Linked DNA regions of Homo sapiens: regions 2, 3, 4, 5, 6 and 7 are each linked to region 1. The links are contacts of gene promoters, found by promoter capture Hi-C in blood cells and fetal thymus (Javierre and others, 2016). All regions are on one chromosome and are shown on one strand. The core of a region is centred on a gene start or on the middle of the fragment in contact, and the rest is flanking DNA. Distances in the headings are between cores, read along the strand shown.

Evidence for each region. The method cuts DNA at HindIII sites, captures the fragments that hold promoters and counts their contacts. A CHiCAGO score of 5 or more calls a contact.
Region 2: a contact is called between a fragment that was not itself captured here and the fragment with the promoter of CAVIN2-AS1 in region 1, in 4 of 17 cell types (neutrophils, M0 macrophages, megakaryocytes and 1 more). The highest score is 8.1, in neutrophils.
Region 3: a fragment that was not itself captured here is called in contact with the fragment with the promoter of CAVIN2-AS1 in region 1 in 4 of 17 cell types (megakaryocytes, M2 macrophages, neutrophils and 1 more); the score reaches 11.2 in megakaryocytes.
Region 4: a contact is called between a fragment that was not itself captured here and the fragment with the promoter of CAVIN2-AS1 in region 1, in 2 of 17 cell types (megakaryocytes and M1 macrophages). The highest score is 6.0, in megakaryocytes.
Region 5: a contact is called between a fragment that was not itself captured here and the fragment with the promoter of CAVIN2-AS1 in region 1, in 6 of 17 cell types (megakaryocytes, M1 macrophages, M0 macrophages and 3 more). The highest score is 9.0, in megakaryocytes.
Region 6: a fragment that was not itself captured here is called in contact with the fragment with the promoter of CAVIN2-AS1 in region 1 in 1 of 17 cell types (neutrophils); the score reaches 6.0 in neutrophils.
Region 7: a fragment that was not itself captured here is called in contact with the fragment with the promoter of CAVIN2-AS1 in region 1 in 1 of 17 cell types (endothelial precursors); the score reaches 5.2 in endothelial precursors.

What each region holds. Positions count from the first base shown.
Region 1 is chr2:191,844,841-191,848,066 of GRCh38, forward strand. CAVIN2-AS1 (CAVIN2 and TMEFF2 antisense RNA 1) reads left to right here and starts at 1,648. Exons shown (of 4, transcript NR_187184.1): 1 at 1,648-1,931. It overlaps CAVIN2 (caveolae associated protein 2), which reads right to left and starts at 2,248. Exons shown (of 2, transcript NM_004657.6): 1 at 1,603-2,248. The coding sequence starts at 2,085. RefSeq lists an enhancer at 1,953-2,461. The HindIII fragment of the contact is 13,325 bases long and covers 1-3,226 here.
Region 2 is chr2:192,178,887-192,182,206 of GRCh38, forward strand. TMEFF2 (transmembrane protein with EGF like and two follistatin like domains 2) reads right to left here. Exons shown (of 10, transcript NM_016192.4): 4 at 782-808. Among named protein-coding and RNA genes, the nearest start is that of TMEFF2, 14 kb to the right of the region's middle. The HindIII fragment of the contact is 6,862 bases long and covers 1-3,320 here.
Region 3 is chr2:192,101,034-192,104,554 of GRCh38, forward strand. All of the region lies in intron 4 of TMEFF2 (transmembrane protein with EGF like and two follistatin like domains 2), which reads right to left. Among named protein-coding and RNA genes, the nearest start is that of TMEFF2, 92 kb to the right of the region's middle. The HindIII fragment of the contact is 1,320 bases long and covers 1,257-2,576 here.
Region 4 is chr2:192,198,061-192,201,383 of GRCh38, forward strand. No RefSeq gene overlaps it. Among named protein-coding and RNA genes, the nearest start is that of TMEFF2, 4.8 kb to the left of the region's middle. The HindIII fragment of the contact is 1,057 bases long and covers 1,478-2,534 here.
Region 5 is chr2:192,126,584-192,130,111 of GRCh38, forward strand. The region is part of intron 4 of TMEFF2 (transmembrane protein with EGF like and two follistatin like domains 2); the gene reads right to left. Among named protein-coding and RNA genes, the nearest start is that of TMEFF2, 67 kb to the right of the region's middle. The HindIII fragment of the contact is 853 bases long and covers 1,229-2,081 here.
Region 6 is chr2:191,514,079-191,517,399 of GRCh38, forward strand. LOC107985833 (a long non-coding RNA gene) reads left to right here and starts at 2,514. Exons shown (of 3, transcript XR_001739229.1): 1 at 2,514-2,585. The HindIII fragment of the contact is 3,630 bases long and covers 1-3,321 here.
Region 7 is chr2:191,569,836-191,573,415 of GRCh38, forward strand. No RefSeq gene overlaps it. Among named protein-coding and RNA genes, the nearest start is that of NABP1, 110 kb to the right of the region's middle. The HindIII fragment of the contact is 2,593 bases long and covers 1-2,577 here.

The DNA of each region.
Region 1 (3,226 bases), core at 398-2,897:
GAATTGTGACTTTCCTCTACAAGATAAATACTTTTTTCCTCCTCCTTAACTGAGGGATGGGACAAGAGATAATTTGCCTGATTCATACTGGAAGCAGGAAAATTTCCTTTGGTGTCTCAGACTTAAACAGGTCTGTACATGTTTGGTTTTGTTTGGAGATCAGTATTTAATTTAGAAATGGCTTGAGAGCTGAGATTTCTAATATCTCTTAGGCTAATAAAGTAAGGATCTCATATGGCTTAAGAAAGGCCCAGTTACAGTATCTCTTTTCAATTCATCTGGTGCATGAAAAGCTACTGCATTTGCATTAAAAGCTGAAAAGTTTTCAGCTGCAAAAGCCTGCAAGGTAGAGGAGGACATAGGCTCCCTAAACCTTTACAATATTCAAGTGCAATTTGAGGAGGACAAAAAAGCAGCGAGATGAGTCTTTCCTTTTATGGGGGTAGGAAGGCTTCTAACTTGGCAGAGCAGATTCATTTTGAAAAAGAAGACTCCCTCGGTTTAAATCCCAATTTCTAAATCTCTCTTGGGAGATGAAGGCTTTCCCTGTGTGCCTTTCACAATCAAACTGTTGGTTATAGCCTCTCCCCTCCATGGCTTTGAAATCCTCTCCTATTCATATGGTCACAACGAGACAGCCCTGGAGCGAGGATGGCAATCGCTTCCTGGGCTCTGTGCTGGCTGGATTCCACTGGGCGGAAGGGCTTCCAGCATTAGGCAGGGCTGCCCTGGGATTCACAAATGCCCACCACTTGGCGGAACAAGAGCCCCACGCAATCTCCCTGTCCCCAGATAGCCTCTTGCTACATTAATTGCATCATTGATGCATTAAAAAAAATTAAGTGGCCTTTTTATTCTAAGGCAACCGTTTGAAGGAGAAACATTTAAGACTAGCCTTTGTGACTATAACTGATAACACTCCTTTTATTTTACTTAACAGTTGTGGTCTCTCTGAACAAGGAGAGGCACGTCTAGTGTGTTTGTACTCTCTTTTTCTAGTGCATTTGCTAGAAAAGAACTCCACAAGATTGCTTTGCCCCAAAAAAGTCTTAAAAGAACAAGGCTAACTCTAATGGAATCAATCCTCTATTTGATTGGTCCCCAAAACGTTGATAGCCTTTGTATAAAGGGATAGTTTGACTTTTTGGTTAAAAAAACCACAAAATACCTCACATGATCACTTCATTTCCACTAAGAGTTAATGAACAGCCACTGAATTAATTTGCCCTGTCCAGCTAACAGCTGCAGCCAGAGCCCTAAGCTCCTAATGCAAAGAGACAAATGAATTTGACTAGGGTGCACGCACCTGCACATCTTCCCAACCTGTACAGAGTGCATCCAGGTGCTCCCTGACAAATGACCCGGGGCCTACTAAGCCCGGGGACATCTTCTTTGGATTAGTCTGTAGTGACCTGGGAAATTCCCACCCCTGTGTGAAGATTTCACATTTGCTTTCCGCAGGCAGACAGGGGACAGTGCCTTGTATGTGTGATCCCTGACAGGCAGGACAAATGTAAAAATGGCTGTGAGAGCCAGGATGAGCGAGATCAAGAATGATAAGGAGTTCCAGCCCGCCTGTAAGGAGGCATAGGGGGAACTGACCTGGAAGATGAGCACTTTGAAATGGTTGCGTCGGAGGAGCTGGGCGTGGTTGTTCTCCAGCCGCTTCACCTGTGCGCACTGCCTATCCATGCGCTCTTTGACCGCGCGCGTGTGGGCGCTGACCTTGCGGGACTTCTCCAGCAGCTTGCTCACCGTGTTGCTGGTGGAGGCCTGGTACTTGGAGAGCTTGGTGAGGTCATTCTGGATGCCCTTCACGGAGCCCTCCAAACTGATCTGTCGCTGCTCCATCTTGTGCTGGTTCTCCTGCACAGCGTCTAGCATGTTCACCAGCTTGTCCAGGAGCGTGAGCACCGTGACTGCGTTCACCTGTGAGTTGTCCCGGATGGCCTCCTCTGTGTTCCCTAGGTTCAGGCTGGGGCTTGGTGTGGAGGAAGGCATCGGGCTGGGGCTCGAGGGCTTTTCCTGCCGCATGTCAGACCCAGGGTGCTGGAACTTTTCGGCCTGTGCAGCGTCCTCTCCCATGGCTAGGCAGGTGGGAACGTTCTTTCTCTCTGGGAGCTGCTTCTTGCTCGGGTGAGAAGTTGCGGTGGTGAGGGTGTAGGATGAGGCCCGCTGGTTGGAGCTCAGGGCACCAGTCTCCAGGACTGGCAGAGGTTCAGACAGGCAACAACTGGCTACGCTGATCAGGGGAACTGCATTCCAGCTGCTCTTAAAGGCCCTACTCCACCCAGTGGGAGGAGAAGTTTACAGAACTGAGAACCATTTAGGGTTCAGACGTATGCACACACTTCCTAACCGCGTTCTGGGCACAGGACACTTTGTTGCAGGTTTAGCTTTTCTTTCCTGTTCCCCTTCCCTTTCAATGTCATATTTCAATCATGACTTCATCTAGAGGCGGAGAAAAACATGCTAACTTGGCCCAGCTCCACAGCTTCCAATTGGCTAAAGCTGGTAAACTTTTCTCTGGCTGCTATGCTGCAGATGCAACAGGGTGCCTGTTTCTTTTTCCTGGATACAAGTTATTGTAACGGAAAGTATTGTTTGCATTTGCCCTAGAACTGACTGATGGGTTGCAGAACACCGGGTGTCCTACTGGGAGGCATAGAGTTTAAAGGGTACTGCAGCCAAGTTTGTATTATTAGTTTCTCATTTGCAAAGGAATGGGACTAACTCTGATAATGATAAGGAAAACAGCTCAGTTCTTATTACTCTTGCAGTTGCAGATACAAAATAAGTTAAAAGAGATTGAACTTCAGGGATATTTAAAAAAAGTAATACTGCTGTTATGACTGTTATGTAATATATGGAAACTTTTTGAATGACCACATTTAAAAAAATGATTGTTTTTTTCAAGAAGTGAGACTGAGGAAAAATAAAATGTGGTCTTTTTAAGAACCTACCGTGATGATTTGTTTTAACTAACTTTGAGTTGGTGAGGAGAGACTTTCTCAAATGCCCATCTCTGCAAGGCATTTATTGACACGTGCCCAGAAGTGTCTGTTGGCAGGCTGAGTTGGAGTTTCTCAAGTGGTTCTAATGTTTGACATTTTAAAATTCCTGCTCAGTGAAGTGGCACACCTGTTCTCAAATGTGGCCCTCCTCAGCTGAACCTTGGGATGTGGGGCTTATTTTCCTAAAATGGCTTTACATGCTTGAGTTGATT
Region 2 (3,320 bases), core at 57-2,556, 330 kb after region 1:
TTGTGTTTTGTTTTGCTTTGTGTGTATAAAAGTCTAATTTTGTTTGAATTTCATCGGGAAAAGTATTTGGGACATTTACAATTTAGTTTCAATCTATAGGTAAAATCTTTATTTGGTAGTAAGTACATTAGATCAAACTTTTAAAGTTTCTCTCTCTCTCTCTCTCATCTTATATACTTCCCTAAACAAAACTAAATAATGGGAACATATATCATACTTTAGTAAAAATAACTATAGATTTAATCAAGGAAGCAAAGATAATATTTTACTTTCATTGGACTTCATTTTATCTTTTTCACTTTTATGAACTAAAGTTCCTTCAGTTTCAAATTATAAATCTGATAATTAAAACCTTGGCTATATGGTAGGTTATGTATGTCTTATTAGCACCTAGTAATTGAGAGCAGTGTCATATATTTAAAAATCCAATATTTAAATGATTTCCTCATGAATTCTTTCTTCCCTGCCAAATATGCTTACATGCTTCTCTTCAGAAGTTTTTACATTATGCCTATCCATATCAAAGATAACTTACAAACAAACAAACAAACAAATGAACAAGGAAGGTTAACTGGAGATAGAGTATGATTCATAAGTATGCCAAATAATTTGCACGGTATATACATGTACTTAATATGGTGACAATTTTTTATGGTTTCACCTTTCCTAAAATGCAAAATATGAAATTTGTCTTAAATATCTGAAATGGAACATACATAAGTAAATATACATAATAATATCCACCAGTAAATCTTCAAATATGTAAAAAGGCAACTCCTACCTCCATCTCCAGATCCTGATCCTGCATCTGTGGGGGGAAAAGTTATATTTGCTAGTAAAACATATTCAAAAATATTTATGACTTTTTAAGCTCAAGTTTATTTTCTTAGTTTAATACTGCAATAATATTGTTTGAGAAAAATACTAATATTTAATCCAAAAACGTACATTCACATCAATTTAATTTAATATCTATTAATGTAACTTCTATAATAAATTATCCATCATTTTTATTCCAGAGCTTTACGAAAACATTATTGCCCCGTTTGGAAAATTTCCTAATCTCGGCTATGAAAAATTCCTAATCTTGACAGGCTGGATTTGGTGCCATTAGCAAAATAAAGTATTAAAAATGAGATGCTTGTAACAATCAGTAAGTTTCAGAAATTAAATAGTCTAATGCGTGTGGCAAATAAACCCATAATTAAGGCTTGTATTCTTGCAAATTGCATATGAACAAAGAGAAAAGCAGTTTAAAAAGAAATATATTTTATATGGGTGTTGATATGTTTTACGAATACCACAATTGTGGATGATTCCATCTGTGTCAAATCATCCTTTGTTTTTGAAGTCAGTAGAAGACAGCTTAATTTTTGCCTTTGTGCTTAAAGTCAGATATTCACTAAATGATTCTTGCAGAAAAAATCATACTTCCTCTTCTGGATTTTTCTTTCACCACTTCTTCTCTCCCCTTCCTTCCTTTAATTACAATTGGTCAAAGTTGTCTATTTCTGGGAAGGTAGTTCCCAGAAACACACAAAATTTCAAGTTGAAATCAAAACCATTACGATTCCATCTGCTTCTGCTTCTTAAGTGTAGACATCATCTTCCTTCTGACTTTCCATTTTTGTTTGTTCACAATACATTTGGTTATGTATTTTAATGTTAATACAGGGAAATAAGATTAATATTGATATTCTCTGCCTGATGTGCCCTTATTCCACAGTGAAATCTCACCCAGGGTTCAAGACTTATACCAAATGCCACTCTTAAGAATTTACGGTCCAATTAAAATAAAACATGACTTTTACTTGTTTGCTTCCATGATACTTTATTGAGAAACACCACATAGAAAGAGGCATGGTGTTTGAAAATCCACAGAAGGCTGACAAATATGGAAGAAGGAAGGCCTTCCCAGCAGCCCTCCTGTTTGTCATGTATTGGCATTAGCAGTACCATGAAGGAGCAGTAGTTTGAACTGTCAGTCTTGTTGGAGGCCCACATTAACTAAATTTATAGGGTCTAATACTATTATATTAGAATGTCAAGTAATCAATTAACTATTAATGTGACAGGACATATGTCTTTGGATCAGCATATCTTTTCCTTAAAGGCAAGTTAATTGGTAAAATAATTTATGATAAAAATTATTCTTAGTAAATGTAGAATCAAACAAGGATTTTAATCATAAGAATTGACTGTTTAATGATAATAGACCAAGAAAGACTGATGAATTCATGTTGATATTAGAATATTCCTACCAACTAAACTGACTGTCATAAGTCACAACACCATCTCTTTTGGACAGAACAGTGCTTGGGTGCTTTTTGTATACTTTCACAGACAAAAATTTTAATTGATTGTATTTGCATTAATTTGAAAGTTTAATTCAGTATTACTTATACTCATTCAGGGCTAAATAACAGACTGTGGTATTACAGTGATAACACATTCTAAATATATTTTAGTTAAATGTATATAGTTTCTTTTAAATTTTCCCCTATAAACTTCTTTAAGTCAAGGAAAATGTGTTGTTCATCACTCTACACTTATATGAACATAATGGGAAATGCATAAAGGCTTAGGAGTTACAAACTCCAAACCTTACTCATTGCATGACAGAGAAATGTTATTCAACCTTGCTAAGCATATTCCTCCTCTATTCAATGGGTACAGTAATATCTAACCGATTGGGCTATTTTGAGGCTTACTGCACAGTAGCATATATTAAATGCTTAAGCACTGTCAGGAACATAATAATTAAAATGTACAGTAAACATCTTGCCTATTCATCTACGAGTATTCTAATAAATACATATGACTGGGGAAAATCAGAAAAAAATGCCAATAGCATTTTAGCTTGTATTTCCCACATGCATTTCTAAAACTTCAAGGGGCATGGTCCTTAAGACAATATTTGATTTGACACAAATGAAACAGCCAGGAAAAAAAAGAAGGAATAGTTTAGAAAAATGATCACTTAAGTCCATGGCATCATTATGAAATCATTATGGGAGGCTTTAATGATTTTCCTTTATTATATGATAAGTCATCCTGGCCAACTGATGATAAATAGCCTACTAAAGTCTTATTAGTAAGACAGAAACACCTAAGAAAAGAAGTCATGCTGTTAGACCTAAATCTGAGCTCCTAGTTAATGCATTTCCTACAAGGCAAAAAGTTAAATTGACGGTAAGACCATTGAGCAGATTTCACAATAAGAGTCCATTCTCTGGACAAAAAAAAATTAAGTTCAATGAAATATAATAAATATAAAGTTATATCTTCTACTGCCTATTATTCCTAGAGCTTACAACTTG
Region 3 (3,521 bases), core at 667-3,166, 260 kb after region 1:
TAATGCCACTCTGTGTTTTATGAAGAACAGAGCATTGCAAACTGGATTTCCATATCACATTATAGTTCATGGGATGTTAAGTATACCATGAAAAAGAAATTTCCCAGGACTTGGTTTACTGTGTTTCAGCAGCTTAGCTAGTGAAACAGTAGAGTTTAATTATGCAGCCTCCTCAGAGTCTGATGGGCAGCTTTCACTGCAGGGCTGGAAGAGAACAATACTGGGGTTATTACCCAAAATAATTTTACCGTGTAATTAGTTGTGTGATATTACCAAATTGAAGTCATGTGCAGAGGCAATTGAAGAATATATAGCCAAAAATGGATTAAAAAATGAAAAAAACTCTAGAGGATCATGTTATTTACAAAACAACAATATAGTTACTTTTTTCTGCAGTTTATAATTTGTGTGGTATTTGTTAACTTTTTAAAATTCATATTTTGCTATGTTTTATTTTCTCTACATGAATAAATACTCACTTTCATGCCTAATTTTGTATTCTTTCTCTTAAAATGTGATCTCAAAATCTAATAGGGCTTGAATCCTACTTTAGGTACTGTTATTTTATAAAGAACCAAAGTGAGAAACACAGCTGGCAAATGGATGAGCTGGGATAGGAACCCTGTGTTCTGATTCATTTGTACATATGTTGAATCACTAGACTGACTATGCTATGTCCCAGGCAGCATCTCATGCTATAACAAAAGACTGAAAATGCAGACTGTCTTCTCGCTTAGACATCTAGTCAGCCTGGAGAATGTACTCTCTTGTAACGAAATATTAGGCAACCTAAAGAAAATATCTGAAGGGGACAGTCAGGTCCACAAAAACAAGTATGATGTTAACTCCGGTGACGATACATGCTCTGGAATTCCTAAGTTCTGTGCTTTACAGTTTCCCTATCAATAAAATGGTGGTGATGATTATTATGTGCTGTTGGAAGAGTAAATGAGATTCTACATATAAAGCATACAGCACAATGTCTGGCACATACAAAAGCTCCATAGATGTGATTTAACTTAGTTTTGGCGTGACTAAGCTACAAAATTAGAAGGAATTAGAAAGCTAAATAATAAATAGTATGTCTGGGAGAGGTATATAAAACACTATGCACAAATTATTGAAGCTCATATACTAAGAACCTATTATCACATAAAAAAGAAAAACAAAAAAAATGAAGCCTGCATTTACTTCTCTTTCAGCTTTTAGCTAACCATTTTGCAGTGGTTAGTCCAGGAATAAAGGACATGCTTACAAGCTTATCACCAGCACACAGATCACGTATTCTTCTGTTAAAAAACCATCTCGGAGCATTTTCTTTCACTCAGAATAAAACACAAAGTCTTAACCATGGTTGTGTATAGGGTCCCACGGGTGTGCCTCAACTCCAAGCCTATTTTCCATGCTTCTCTTTCTCCTCACTCTGCTCCCCTACTCTAGCCTTCTTGCAATTCTTAAGACAGGACCTTTGCAGTTGTCCCCAGTGGTTAGAATGCTCTGCTCCTAGATATCTCCATGGCTCCCTCTCTCCTTCCCCTCCTTTTATTTTTATTTTAATATCATCTTCTCAATAATTTCTTTCTTTTCTTGTTCTTTTTTTTTTTTTTTTTTTTGAGATCGAGTCTTGCTCTGTCACCCAAGCTGGAGTGCAGTGGTATGATCTCGGCTCACCTGTCGCCAGGCTGGAGTGAGGTGGCACGATAATTTTTGTATTTTTACTAGAGACGGGGTTTCGTCGTGTTGGCCAGGCTGGTCTTGAAATCCTGACTTCAGGTGATCTGCCCACCTCAACCTCCGAAAGTATTGGAATTACAGGCGTGAGCCACCACTCCTGGCCTCAATAATGTCTTTCTTGACCATCCTATTGAAAATTGCAACCTGTAGTTGATCCCTAAAATGAAACTCATTTTTTTTTTCTATGAGCATTCCGTGGTGTGGAATACTGCATCTGGGACTACTTGAGTTTTTCCCAAAAACTTTGGGTCACTCTGGACATTAATGATGGGAATAGTGACTTCTCACTAATTCAGACTTGGAGCTGGCTGCCCAGACACTCAGAAATTAAATTCTATTCTATCAATGATACTCACTGTCCTATAACTCAGTGTTTCATCGAACGTGGTACTTCTTGATCTTCTCTTTTTCTAAAACTCTGTTTTCTGATGTTTATCCCTGCTCCCAAGGAAATTCTTTTTATGAATATCACTATCCCAAAGTGGGTACAATTGCTGTCGTATTTCCTTTCTCCACGCCCCTTTCTTAGTACCAACTGACCACTCATAAGTACTTTCACCAATGACAGGTATTAGATTTTTTCTCATATCCTGTTCACACCTCTGCTTGGATTACGGCCTGGATATGGACCTTTTAGTTTTGGATTCACCTTAAGACATCTGCCCTCTTTTGTTTCTCCTTAGAATAATTGGTCTTTGTCTTGCTTCCATTTCAGATGTACAGTAATCATTTAGTTCAACTAGGACTTGGATCTAGCCTTCCTACTTTATCTTGTTCTTTTGCTAATTAGACATTAACGAAACCTGAGTTCTGACTCAGTATCTAATTCTTTGTGTTAAGTAAGCTTACAGGAAGGTAGTCTTGTTTTCAACTCTTCAGGTAAAGAACCTAGTAGAATGCTATATGAACCGTAAATTAAGTCACATTTAGACCTTGATTACAGGGCTCTCTTGGTAAGAATCAAAGCAATGGTGGGGTCATTAGTAGAATGAGAAGGAATATGAGAAATTGTATGTCTTTGTTTTATATGCAGAGATGCCATAGCCTTGAGGTGAGGGCATGCTTGGTGTGTTTGAGAGAGTAGAGGGAAAAAGAAAGATAGTGCTACGAGATAAAATCAGAGGAATAGCAGCGGGTCTAGATCAGTATACTGCTGTGAAGTTTATTATAAGACCTTTGGCATTTACTCTGAGCAAGATGGAAAAGCCACCGGGAGTTTTGAGAGGACTAACGCTTTCCAACTTTCATTATGAAGGCACATTCTGATGGTTGTATTGAAAAGAAAGCAAAGGAAAGCAACCACTAAAGCAGGGAGAACTAAGAGACTATTTTAACAATCCAGAGAGAGAACAAGAGATAAAATGTTGATGTTGGCTTAAGGTAAAAGGGGGTAGCAGTAGGCATTTCTAAGTACGCTGAATTTATTTCATAGGTAGCTTCTGACAGGATTTGCTGACAGAAGTAGCGTTTAGAGAAAATCAGGTTGACTCCAAAGTTTTTGGCATAAACAACTGAAGAATGCTGTTATTCAGAGAAAGGGAAAGAATATGGTGGGTGAAATTTTAGGGGGCAGATCAGAGTAATTTCCACTTAGGTTAGTTTTCTTTGAGTGAATACATAACCTATCTACATAAGAGGTTTTCTTTTAATGTCTCAAGACATAGGTCAAATATTTATAACCCTGGAAACTCATTACATTGTATACTCCAGCTTAGTCTTCTAACTCATATTGCAATATATGAAACCATTAAAATGGTAATAAAAAATAGAAAGTGGTTACTGGCAAA
Region 4 (3,323 bases), core at 756-3,255, 350 kb after region 1:
GTTATTCTCCAACAAGAATAGTTTAAGATAAATAAATGAACCTGGGAAAATAAGATACACTGCCAATCAGAACTCTTATCTCCTTCATGATTTCATACTTTCTGATTGCTTCAATAAAGGTAAGATGTATCCTTTGCTTCTTAGGTGTCAGGCATTGTGCCATGTAGGATAGAACATGTTATTTTTATTTAATCTTTAAAACACCCCTATGAGACAAAGAATATTATCTCATTTTATATAAAAGGAATATGGCTTTGAAAGCATCAGGCAACTTGCCCCAAGAAACAAATCTCGTCAGTGACACTGCTGGGACTCTGTGAAATTCTGCCTGACTTCAGAGCACAAGACATAAGTCACTAATTTCTGCTGTATTGCTGCCTGTTAGCTTCTGAGAGGGGAAACTAACTGGGAACGTATCAGTTCTGTCCATGATACTTCATTTGCCCTTTCTGTGGAGCCGCAGTAAGGCCCAAACTTTAATTCTCAAACTTCGGCAATAAGATCCAGTGATTTCTGAACCTGGTTGATCATATGAATTCCTTGAGAAACTTTGAAACAATAGACAAATTCCAAGTCCCACTATCAGGGATTCAGAAAATCTGGAGTTGGGCCTTGGGATCCACATTTCAATATTCATCCTTGTTGGAGAAGTAAGGTACCACCTATACCTATATGACAAATGAAAGGATACCTCGATTTTTGCTCAGTTTTCACAGAGAGGTTTCTGAGACAGGTTAAAAGCTTTTACTCAGTGTAAAGATGAGCTGTTGTACATGTCTGTCTCTCTGTTTTTATGCATATGTTCACCAAATATGTATTAAGCTTCTAATATGTCTGACACAGTAACTTTGTGACTGTAGACAATTTCCTCATTTGTAAAATGTGAGTAATAACAATACCTGCCTCCTGGGCTTGTTCTAAAGATTAAAATAAAAATGTATGGTTTAATGGTAGTGGATTTGGGGGGATCCCCTATATAAATAAGTGAATGGAGGTATGAATAAATAAATACATAAAGATGTGTGTACTTATATTTATACACATAATTAAAAATAGTTAAAGATGTACAAATTAAAGTTAAATGTATGTGATATTGAAGTATATGTTGATTATTGATAATGAAGTACAGTATAATTTCTAACCCCACACCTTAACATCTCATACTTAATAACTCATATCTTAATTTCTAGCCTACTTAAGATACATAGATATAGATAGAATGTTCTAAATCATTATTGCCTTAGTTTTAATGTATAATATTCATATGAAAAAGTATCTATCAGTGTGTAGTAAATGTATTAGAACATTATTTATAGGTCAAATGATATTGACAATGTTTCAGAGTCGTCATCTTCATTTCTGGATAATTTTTCAAACTGAGAGTAATTAAATTTGCTATTTTTTCACCCTTTTCTACAATGGCAAATAACATATAAACAATGAGCTGTGATTTAAAGAAATAATTTTATAATGTAAAAGCTTCCCTATGCCTTATTGATTCCCATGCCCTTAATTAATTTTGGTAGTTTAAGTTTGTGATTTCAGTGCTGAGGAAAGTTTATTTCATCTTAGAGCAGTGGGGCTCAGTCATGATTTCACATCACAATCACCTGGATAATTAAAGAATACTGATGCAGAGTTCGTATTCAAAGACTTGGAATCCCTAGAAGTGACACAGAAGCATTGGTATATATATATTTTTAAAGTTTTCCTGGAGAAACACATAGCCATGATTGAGAACCACTGTCCTGGGGAAAGTGACTATTTTCTCATTACTCAAATAGCCAAGTTTCAGGAGGTAAAATACTTACATTTTTCTCCATTAAAACTTGTAAAACACATATCTCACCAAAGACTATTAAAACATCTAGCCAAAGCAATATGAACTAGTTAATGTTTGCCACTAGCTTGCCAGTAGTTAAAAAAAAAAAAAGGAAGAACTGTTATTGGAAGAGAGCTAGATTTAATAAGCAGTAGTCATCTCTATACAATCTGGTGTCTTTTTATTTATAAATTCAAGTAGGTTTCCATTGCTATTAATTTAATCATAGCCTTCTTAGGGCTTAGCCTAATGCTTTATTTCAAACTCATTTTGAAATTTATTCTCTGGAGTCAGAAACAGGAACTAGAATCAGCTTGGAATGAAACTACCTTTCATGTCTCTCTTTGGCTACTCATGGCTTCTATTGGGGGAAATTAGAAAAAGACTTAGTAAAGGTAGTTCTTTCCAATTTGTATTATTAACACCATCCAGTATTGCATATTCTGAGCATTTTACTCATTTATTTCATACCATAAGCCCCAATCATTTCTCCCTTTATTATCTGTGACATTGATTTTTTTTTTCTCCAAGTTACTTGTTAGTGGTAGAACAGACCCCCGGAGCACTAATGTTCCCAGCCGCTTTGCTGCTGCTCTTCTACCCACTTGTCGTTCTTCTAAAAAAATAAATAAAGAAAAAATAGAAAAATGGAGGGGAGGAACTTCTTTCATACAATATTTAGGAAAACTTAATATAAACATCGCTCACTTGAAGCTTCACAGTGTGCATTTACACATTAAAGGCTCTGAGGAGCCCTGCAGTGAAATCAAGCCAAAACACATCAAGCAAAACTAAACACCGGTTTAACTTTATTGACCTCAGATTTTCTAACATTATTTGATCATGAATCCCTTTTAGCAAGAAACCACTACAATAAACTATGGCAATGGATTTCCATATATTACTCCATTAGTAGCAATAGTTTAAGGAATGAATGAGCCTTTTGAAAAGTTGTGTTGCCATTTTTAGGTGCCAGGGCTGGTCATTCCCTTTGACTTGTCTTTTCACCAATGAAGTCAGCTCACAATCAGGTCTTTACATTAGTAGTGTAAATGTTCCACAATTGTATCTTCTGATGTAATGTATTCTGACATCATAAGCATTTTCGGAAAATGATTAAAATGTTAGCCTTTCCTGTACTCCACCACATTACCGCCTTTAAAAATCTTCCTTCCTTTATTTTACCTTACATAAATTCTAAACTGGATACTGTCATTTCCTTAGCAGTGATTGTAACACAGAATCAGATACAGATTGTGTCTGATAACACTACTTTCCAAAAAACTGAGTCTTATGTTGTTGAACATGTTAAAAGTGTTTAAATAGAAAATTCAAAAGATTTAAAAGAGAATTTAATTGACTTATTTACATGTCTATACTTATTTCTTTACAGTATAAATCTGGACATTTAGCCACTTGCTGATTATTATTAGAGCTTCCAATATAATGACATGGCAAGATCACATGACAGGAGCTAGGCAGCTGTTGACTATTTGAGTTG
Region 5 (3,528 bases), core at 405-2,904, 280 kb after region 1:
AGACACTGCTATGGTAATTACATTTGGTATGAAGGAAGTAAGGCATACTTGCAACTAGAAAGAAGGAGAAATGACTAACACTTAGGATATTTGATGTTTTACATTCATGATCTTGTTCCCTCTGACAGTCATGTTAGGAAACTGAGGCTCAGAGAGACAGGGTAAATTCCTCAAGGTGGTAAAACCTAGGTTGGTTAAACTCCAAAACCTGTCCTTCTTCACTACGTGGAGTTGCCTTCTAACTACAAAAACAAAACAAAACAAACAAACAAACAAACAAAAGCTTGTTTTGGCTGCTGTAAAATAATGCCCTTCCTCCCACTTCAGGCAATTCAAGTATTTCAATATAGAAGTTAATTTTTGCTTTGGGTTTTAGAATTTTGTTGTTTTGCTATGTAACTTAGAACTGATATTTAATTATGTGCCAATATAAGAACAGTAAAGCACTCTTATTTAGACAGCTGTAACACTAAGTACATGAATGAGATTATTAGTGCCAAGCAACTCATCCCTCCACCAGGCTTTCTGACAGATGAGAGTCTGTGGCTCCTCCCCAAGTCATGAAAGAATCTAGTGCACTAATGACATCTGGATCACCTCTGACAATTTTTAAAAGATTCAATGATTCTCTGTCAGCAAGAAGGAAAAACTGACTTGACCTATTGTTCATCAAGGTATAATTTTGTAAATGCTCACAGAAAGCCAAATATTGACTAATAATAGAGCAAATTATACAGGGCTCATTAAATATCACAGGCCACGTAATTCATTGCTGTTTTCTGAGTGAACACTCAATGGTGTTAGAATATTTGCCCTTCTGTCTTTAAGTGTTACCCTTCCTGCCTTCTCTCCTACTTCTCTCTTCTCTAAATCCAAAATGTAAAAATTATTGCATTTGAAAAACATTCAACAAATCAACAATGTAGCTATTTTTTGTTCAAACTGGATGAGAAATCCTCTTTATTTTGGGGAAACCTCACTTGCTGGCATGGAACTATGATTTGGGGCTAACGTTGAAAAATTGTGCTTCAACACATGACAAGAACATGAGCTGACTATGTCTAAAGTCAAAAATTGAGCAACAGTACAATTATGTAACTGTTTGTTTTATGTTAACTGAAAGGCCCAATCTTTGTAGCTTAAATCTTAAATAAGTTAGTTCAATAAGTCGTGACAATTTTAAGTAATAATATTACTTTGTGTGTTATTCTTGCTATCAATGAGTCAAAGCTTAGCAGAAATCCTTAAAACTACGTAAGAAATGTTCTATCTACTCAACTTACACTATTACATTCTTCTAATCTTAATTTTAATTTTTATGTGCTACATAACTCCTCTTTGGAAACCCATTAATTTAAAGTTTTGAGATATGTAGTTCTGGGCTCTTTTGTAGCTTTTCTTAGCCCTAAGTCACACAATTCTACTGTGCAAGGTAGTGATAATTAATATTTCCAATCTTGATTTGCCATTGCAACTTTAGATTTTAGGGCACTGTAGTTTTTAGTATTTTACATAAGTTCAGCCTTTCACTCATTAAACTTAGGTCCAAATAAATTGCATCTGTCACAATTTTTTTAAAATTTGCCATTACAGATAAAGCCTACAATTTTCAAGAAGCTAAAAATGCTATTTTTGCTCAATGTCTATACATATATTTATTTTCAGTTTTTCCAAATCTACTTTTATACTATGTAAGAATTGACAGGTGAGGTAACAAATCAGCATTAGTCGAATATAAGAATATTCTTAGTTTCTAATTAGACTATTGACAAACAAAATATTGCAATAAGTCACTGTAGCCTTCAAATTTACTTTTAATATTGCCTATTACAAACATGTCTGAAATGATTTTCCTTTATAAATTCTTGCACAGATCTAACATTTTGACAAAAGAAAGGACATCTTAAAAATGAATTCCTGAATGTACGGATAGAAAATGAACATCAGAACAAGTGAAGTGTTGCCTTCTTATCGCAAGAAAAGAGTAGACAAACAGTATCTATTTTAATTCTTGTGCAACTCACTTTTAATAGGAAGAAAGTGCTGGAACAGTCAGCTTTAGTAAGGCTGCAAGTTTTAGAAGCTTATCAGGTATAATATGTTAATCTTTAAAAACAGTATGATGAAGTCTGAAGCTTTCAGAGAGATGAGACACTGATAATGGGCCTGTTTAAAACAACATAACGAAAACCTTGATTGTGGGTTGCCAAGCAGCTTCCAAATGTTGAAAGAGAAAGCAGTTTCTTCAAAGGAGGCTGTTGCTCACAGAAAATGCATTTTCATTCCAAGTGCTGCAGCGGCGCATTTTGGCTTCCCCCGGGGAGGTAGCAAAACTCTCCAGTGTGTGGCACATGTGGTGCCTTTTGTGTTACTTGTGCATCTGATGTATACAACCACAGTGCACTTTTCAGTAGCCACACATTTCCTCTGGGACATGCCTGGGTGCCCCATAGGAGAGTGTTGAGCACCCAGCAATCTTAACACCCCCTGGCCTGGGGCCCCTAAATTAGGTATTCTAGCTCTGGTGCCAGTTTATGTTTCTGTGTACCTACATGGCCCAAGGCTGAAAAAATGACTAGGAATCCTGGGATCCTCGTGCAAATCTTCGAATTGGTTCCCTGAGAGTTCCTCAAGCACATATTCTGGATTGATTTTCAGTTTTTTAAAAATGTCCACTAACTATCTCATTTAAATAGCTTTTGTCATCTTGAAAATATAACCCACGGGTTATTTTATAAGAGTAGAAAGCAGTATACTCTGACACATTTTACCAGCATGTTTAATAGAAAAAAAAAAAAAGAGCAATATCCTCAGAAAAATACCTTTCTGACCATGATGTACATAGTTTTTGGGCCATCCAAGGAAAAAAGACACTCTTAGAGGGATGGGTTTTAATACTACTTTAGTTTATGTCAACCTGAAAAATTCCCCATGCAGTGGAACAAGAGTTTGAGGACCCCACATGCATTCTTACATTTCAATTCTAAGATGAATCCAGATTTCAGAAATATTAAATATGAAAATAGTGCAGCATAGAATTAAGGAAATGCCATATTTATGGTGAGGGAGTTGCTGATGTTGCTCCAGGACTTCCCAGTTTGAGGATTTGGACTAAATGTGTACATCTGTGGGAGCAAGGTCCTTTGTATATGTTTGTGTGACTAGCAAGCAAGATTGAGGCCCACAACACTGCATAATCTACAGTACATACATCATAAAACAGTCCTTTAATTTTACTTGTGGAATTATTTGTCATGCCAAGTCTTTGTTTTTAGTCATTTACATTTGTATTTCTTACCGCAGTTTTTCTAAAAACAAATTAACAAAGACGAATATTGAAATAATTCGCCTGACCCTAGCATAGGTCACTTAGCTTAATTTAACTGCAACTGTATTATTTTCCCTAAATATAAAACAAATAGATGCAAAATGTCTATAAGTGATTTAGATTGTATTGCACTGTGATTTGTAGTTTTTAAAGACTAAAACTGTCATTTAATTATTACTTTTTGTTCTGTGAGCGTACGT
Region 6 (3,321 bases), core at 537-3,036, 330 kb before region 1:
AATTTTATTCTGTCTTTTTAAAAGACCAATTATTTAAATTTAAGAGAAGAGTATTTGAAAGGCCTTCACTTTAAAATTTACATAAGTAAAATATATACCCAAATCTGACCAATATGATAGCCAGAGGAAAACAAAACCCAAAGGCCTGCCAGGCATGGTGGCTCATGCCTGTAATTCGAGCACTTTGGGAGGCCGAGGCGGGCGGATCACCTGAGGTCAGCAGTTTGAGACCAGCCTGGCCAACAAGGTGAAACCCCATCTCCACTAAAAATACAAAAATTAGTCTGGCGTGGTGGCACATGCCTGTAGTCCCAGCTACTTGGGAGGCTGAGGCAGGAGAATCGCTTGAACCTGGGAAGTGGAGGTTGCAGTGAGCCAAGATTGCACCACTGCTCTACAGCATGGGCGAGTGAGACTTCGTCTCAAAAAAAAAAAAAAAAAAAAAAAAAAAAAGGAAAAAACCCAAAACAAACAAACAAAAACAAAATCCGAAGGTCTTTTTGCTTTAATATCTCACTTGCCCTGACCTCAAATCCCCAACATAAAATCCCTTTCTATGATGCAAATCTTCTGTCAGAAGGTGTGGACATACTGCACTAGAGTCAATCAAGCTGGGCTGCCCACATCTGAATCATGGGGTGCTTACTGAAAAACGCAGATCCTTGGGCCCCACCCAGCTCTACCGAGTCAGGACCACTATGTCTGTGTGGCCTGAGATTTGCATTTTCAGCAGAGTCAGCACTCTAAAGTGCTAATATTATACCATGAAAAATTAGGAAGGGCTAATTTATGAGTTCCCTTATAGAGGCCCCTTCAGGAAGGAGACAAAGAAGAGTTTTATAACGGGAGGGTAGGGGTGGTGGCAGGGGGCGATGGGCCTCAGGGAGAGTTCAGAGATGGAAAGGGGATCAAACATGGAAAAGATAGAAGGTGGAAGCTCTTGAAGAAAACTTCAGCGACTTAACTCCTTTGTCCAAGGCTAGACAGCCACAGAACTTCCTGGGGTGATAGAGCTCTGTACCCCACATCCCCAGGCTTTGGTGTCTCATGACACTGAACAGAACCCCAGCTACTACCTACATTAATTAACAACTGTGAGCCTCAGTTTTCCCATATGAACTGGGTATAAAGTAGAGTTTTGATGAGGATTAAAAGTAACTCAACCAGGAAGATAATTTAACATGATGGTTAAGGGTGTGGTTTTGGAGTTGGGCTTCCAGGCTTCATGTCCCAGCTCCAGCATTTACTACTTGTGTGACCTTGGCAGGTTATTTAAACTGTTTGCACCTCAGTTTCCTCATCTATTTACTGATGCTAAAAAAATTAATATATAGCCCTTTTTTATATAATAAAAAAATTAATATATAGCTAAAAAAATTAATATATAGCAGTTGGGGGGAGTAGGGGTTAAATGAGAAAATACATGTTACAAATCTGTAACAGTACCTAGCATATAATGAGCAAGTCAATAAATGTTACCACCTCTCATCATTATTTCATATATAAAGCAGCTGGCACCTGGTGGGAATTTAATAAATGATAGCTATTATTAGTAGAAATAATCACTCCTGGCTTCAAGACAGGCCAAAACCCTATTACATAATCCTGGCTGAGTCCCCATGCCTTGTTCGTAGTCTGTCATAACAGTGCCATTGAGGTTATTTGGGATAACATGTGGTTAGGACAGTTATTGTGCAGTGGTATATGCACATATAACTGAGCAGAGAGGTTTCTGAATGTTTTATGAAGGTGTGTGGGTGGAGGGGTCGAGTGCCCTGGGGAAGCTGCAGGAGCCTCTCTCCCTCCTTCTGCTTGGAGAACCTGGCAGCTGTCGCAACAGCAACAGCAGAGAGATGGACCTTTTGGAAAGTAATGGACACACTAGAAAAATATTTGAAAATCCATGACCTGTACTTATTTGATTCAAAGCCTATCATAGGAAAAGCCTATCACATTCCCTCAGGAATCTGTTGTTGTTATTTGCCTGCTCACCACAGCAAAGACTACTTCTTTTTCAAGACTTGAAACAATTATAATATATGTATATTTTTTTCTGATGGGCACTGTGTTTTAAGCTCTCTGTTCTTAAAATTTACAAATTTGTATTTGCTGCCCAGTTCTTTATTCTTTGTTGCCACATAAATCCTGCAATCTTGGTAGAAAAATAAAGAATACAGGAGAGCTGTTTGACCTTTGCTCCTTGCTGGGCATTGGTGTCATTTATAGTTATTAGAGTGGGGACAGAACGGAACTCATTGATGACTGAGCGGGTGGGGAGAGAAGGAGGAATGGCAAGCGGGGAAGGGAAAGGAGAGGGAGGAGAACACAGATTACTACAAGAATCTCATGTTGTGCTTTCACTTTGGGCAAGTATAACACTAGTAGTCCTTTGTGGGAGCTCGAAAAGGCACATGGGGGAAATAAGTCTCTGGAATAAACAGTATGACCTTGGCTGCATGGCTCTACTAACTTGGTTTTGCAGAACTGAGATAAATGGATACTAGTGAATTTGCATCAATTCCATTTAAGGCTTTAAAAAGACATATGGATAACATTATTGGCTACAGACCCTTAAGAAAACTAAGGTAAGTTCCTCTCAAGGCTCAAGCTAAGTCTTGTAGCGGGTAAAAATAGAAAGCCTTAGGCTGAAAAGCTGAAGGTCTCTATGTTACCATTGCTGAACCATTGGTTTACTGGGCAGTAGGGCTGGGGATCAATCTAAAAACCTGTCAAGCATGGTTCTTTTTAAAAATAAAACAAGGCCAGGTGCGGTGGCTCACGCCTATAATCCCAGCACTTTGGGAGGCTGAGACAGGTGGATCACTTGAGGTTAGGAGTTCAAGGCCAGCCTGGCCAACATGGTGAAACCCCATCTCACCTAAAACTACGAAAACTAACCTGGCATGGTGGTGTGCGCCTGTAATCCCAGCTACTAGGGAGGCTGAGGCAGGAGAATTGCTTGAACCCAGGCGGTGGAGGTTGCAGTGAGCCAAGATCGCACCACTGCACTCCAGCCTGGGTGACAGAGTGAGACTCCATCTAAAAATAAAATAAAAATAAATAAATAAACACATAAGTAAAACAGACAGCCTGCTTGTTCTCATGGAATACATGACAACAGTAAGCAAACGTAAAAATGCACAGCATAAACCACAAAAATTTTAATTAATAAAAAATGTAGTAAGAGAGGAAGTAAGAAGACTTGCTGTCAGTGTAAATATTCTAAAAACAGTGCTTCTTTAGATCAGGCTAAAATTAATGTCACTACTAAAGTTTCAGACAACTTAGTAATTTGGGCTAAGAAATATTTATTGAGCACCT
Region 7 (3,580 bases), core at 31-2,530, 280 kb before region 1:
CTCACGCAGACCACTGCACAAGCTCTGCTCTTACAGCTTCCAAATTACTTTTCTGGCCTTTGAAGTGGAGCGATTTAGGATGCCTGCAGATCCTCCCCTGTTTAACAAATGCTCCCTGCTCTCAGTCCAGGGACCCTCACTCTTCCTGTCCTCTAACTCAGGACAGATTCCTGTCTATTATAGGTAGACAGGAAATCTTTTTGGATATCCAGGAAGATGGATATCCAAACTTCCCCAAGATCCTAGTCTATTTCCTTCCTTCCTTCCTTCCTTCCCTTTCTTTTTTCTCTTTTCTTTTCTCTTTCTTTCTTCCTTTCTTCCCTTCTTTCTTTCTTTTCCTTCCTTCCTTCCTTCCTTTTTCTTTCTTTCTTTCTCTTTCTTTCTTTCTTTCTTTCTTTCTTTCTTTCTTTCTTTCTTTCTTTCTCTTTTTCTTTCTTTCTTTCTTTCCTTCCTTCCTTCCTTCCTTCCTTCCTTCCTTCCTTCCTTCCTTCCTTCCTTCCTTCCTTCCTTCTTTCTTTTCTTTTCTTTTTCTTTTCTTTCTTTTTCAACTTTATTGGGGTAAGTGATTTATAGTAAACGGCAGAGATTTAGTGTGTGGTTTCACAAGTTTTGACATATGTGCTTACCCAGGAAACCGCCACCTCAGTCAAGATAATGAACATTTCCTTCACCCCGAAAGTTTCATAGTTGCCCCCTTTGTAAGACCTCCTTCTTTTTGCCCCATCCCCAGTCTGCTTTCTGTGACTATAGATTACTCTGCGGTTTCTAGGATTTTATGAAAATGAAATCATCTTTTCTTGTCTGATTTCTTTCACCTAGCATAAATATTTTGAGATTCATGCATGTGGCTGCATGTATCAATAATTCATTCCTTTTTACTCCTGAGGATTAATCCACTGTATGGATCCATCACAGTTTGTTAATCCATTGAGGAATCATTCCTTCTGTTTTGTTTTATAAGATCACGAAGCGTTAGATGTGTAAGGGGCATTATAGGTCACTTAATCTAAGAAAATCATCAGTTATCTGTAGTTATCTACCTACAGATTAGGTAACTGAAGCCAGAACACTACTTAAGAATTTCCCTGGAAATTGTTTAAAATTGAGATTCATACCTATTCCTGCCGTTTGATTCTGATGGTGGAGTGAATCCTGGGATTCTGCAGTTTTAGCAACAGCCTCTGGTGATTCTAATCCAGATATATGGTCTACTATACTTAAAACACCGAATTATTTAAATATTGAGGTCGTAGAAGGTTAGGAGCAAAGGCTGGATTTAAATCCACAATTTTTGATTTCTAAGTTTAGGGCTCTTTCTACTACATTATGTCAACCCCAAATAACATCAGACACATGGAAGCCTGACGCTGTCTGCTAGCGTAAATCTCTTTGTTTTCTCATCAAAGAAATGCCACAGCTCGATTCCAGGCTACATTCTTGTGTTTCCAGAAGAGGGTACTGATAACAAATCCTTTCTTTAATGCACGTATTTCTTTCTCTTACTCTCTCTCCCCACCCCCTCTCTCCTCCCTTCTTTCTTCCTCTGCTTGTTTTTGTTTTGTTTTGTTTCGTTTTGGGTTTTTTGTGGGGTTTTTTTTCTGGTCATTAAAGTTGCAAATATGAAAAGCAACAAAGTGAGACCTGGGAAAATGAGTTTACTTCAATAAAAAGCCAAAGTCCCTGGAGAAATTTCTTGACATCATTACATTTTTAATACAAACTTGCCTGTAAGTGCTGTCACTTACTGGCTTCCAGTCACTAATTTTATGAGTCAGCACTTTCCCTCAGTGACTTCCTCAAAATTATAGGAATAGGAGGGGCTGGACAGAACATGCAGAAGTAAGAATGCTGAAAATTTAACCAGAGCTGAAGAAACGTTGACCTTTAGGAACAACAATGACCAAAAATGTCATCTAGTTATCTTACTCCCTATCTCTTTCCATTGGGTAGTTAGGGAGGAAGCCATAAGCCTAACTTGGTATATATATATATATATATTTTTTTTTTTTCCCTTAAGTTATTATAATTCCAGTGACCCTTGGGCTGCCTTCCTCCAAACTCTGAAAATTTGAACTCAGGCAGTGGGGCCTGAACCCTTACTTGATACCTGGTGTCTGAGAATGTTGTTTCTAAGCAAGGATATCAAGATCATGAAAAACCAAGCAGTAACATATCAAATGAAAGAAGAGACATGAGTCCAACTCAAGCTGCCAGAAAAATTTAATTCATCTTTGATAGTTTGGGCATTTTCCTAACAATATTTTTATGACAAATTGGGTAATTCAAATGTGCTGGCTACCTTTGAAGCCCTAGAATGAAAGTGAGCTTTTGCCTCATGAGATAAAATAAGACAAGGCTTTGAGAATTCAGTCGCCCCACCCTGGGTAGAATTGTGAGAAGGCACACTGTGTCCCTAGGACCCTCAGACTCACTTCTTTGAAACCTTTTCTTTCCCCACTCTTACCAGGTATGGGGGCTCCATTGCTCTCCTCATTGGATCCTTAGTGTGAGTGACACAGAGTCTTATTATCCTATGCTGTCTACGTTTGCATTTGAACATTAATTGTGGCAATGACAAGCTTTGTCTTTGAGTCACAAGGCTTGGAAATAAGACAGAAGATTGGTAATTAGAAGTTCTAATCTGTGTTCATCTACTTATCACTTGTGGGCCCTTAGGCGAGTCATTTAACCTTTATGAGTCTATTTTCTCATGTGTCAAATAGTAACGATGATAGTAATATGCACATTTGTGAGTGGCTATAGGGACTAGAGATTAGGTATATAAAGTACCTGGTCCATAAATGGTAGTTAAAGGCATGTCGGCCATGCGGGTGTCAGGCATGCAGATGATGGAAAATTTGGGACTTCTCCTATTGACAAGAGGACTTTTCTAGTACAACTGAAACTGGCTTATTAGAATGGAGAGTGGTAGCTGCCTACTCAATTAGGGTGGGCCTATGTGTTTTGCCCTAATGCCTCATGTCTACCTAATTTCTCTTTGTGTCCATTGTAATCATGGAGCCCGAATCTTTGGATCATTTATGAGAGTCATAAATCTAACTGGGTGAAAGTGGAATTGAGAAGAGACTCCAATGTATTTGTGAGACCAGGTACTTAAGGGTTGCTACATTTGAAACACAATTATAGAATACATACATATACAGAATGACAAATGATTTCCACAAGTTTGACAAGGAAACTAATCTTATTACTTTATGGTCACACTTCTGTGACAATGCAACTTAATTTTGCCAAAATGTATTTCTATGTTTATGCACATATACATGCTCCTCAATGGCCTATTTCTATACTCACCCAAATTGTATATAATCACAAAAAAACTGTCTTTTTTACAATACAGTTTATTTATTGCACTTCTTAAAGGCAGAAACATTCATTGTGATTTCTGTTCTCAGGTAATGAGAAGCTGTGATAGATATTAACAGAAGAAACTTTGAGTGGAAAGTTCTCCAGATTTTCTCACTGCCTCTCTCCAAATTTGATATGCTGTAATATTTTTAGTCTTATTATTATAGTGTCAGGGTGGAGATGAATCATATTGAGAGGAAGAGGTAAAGTG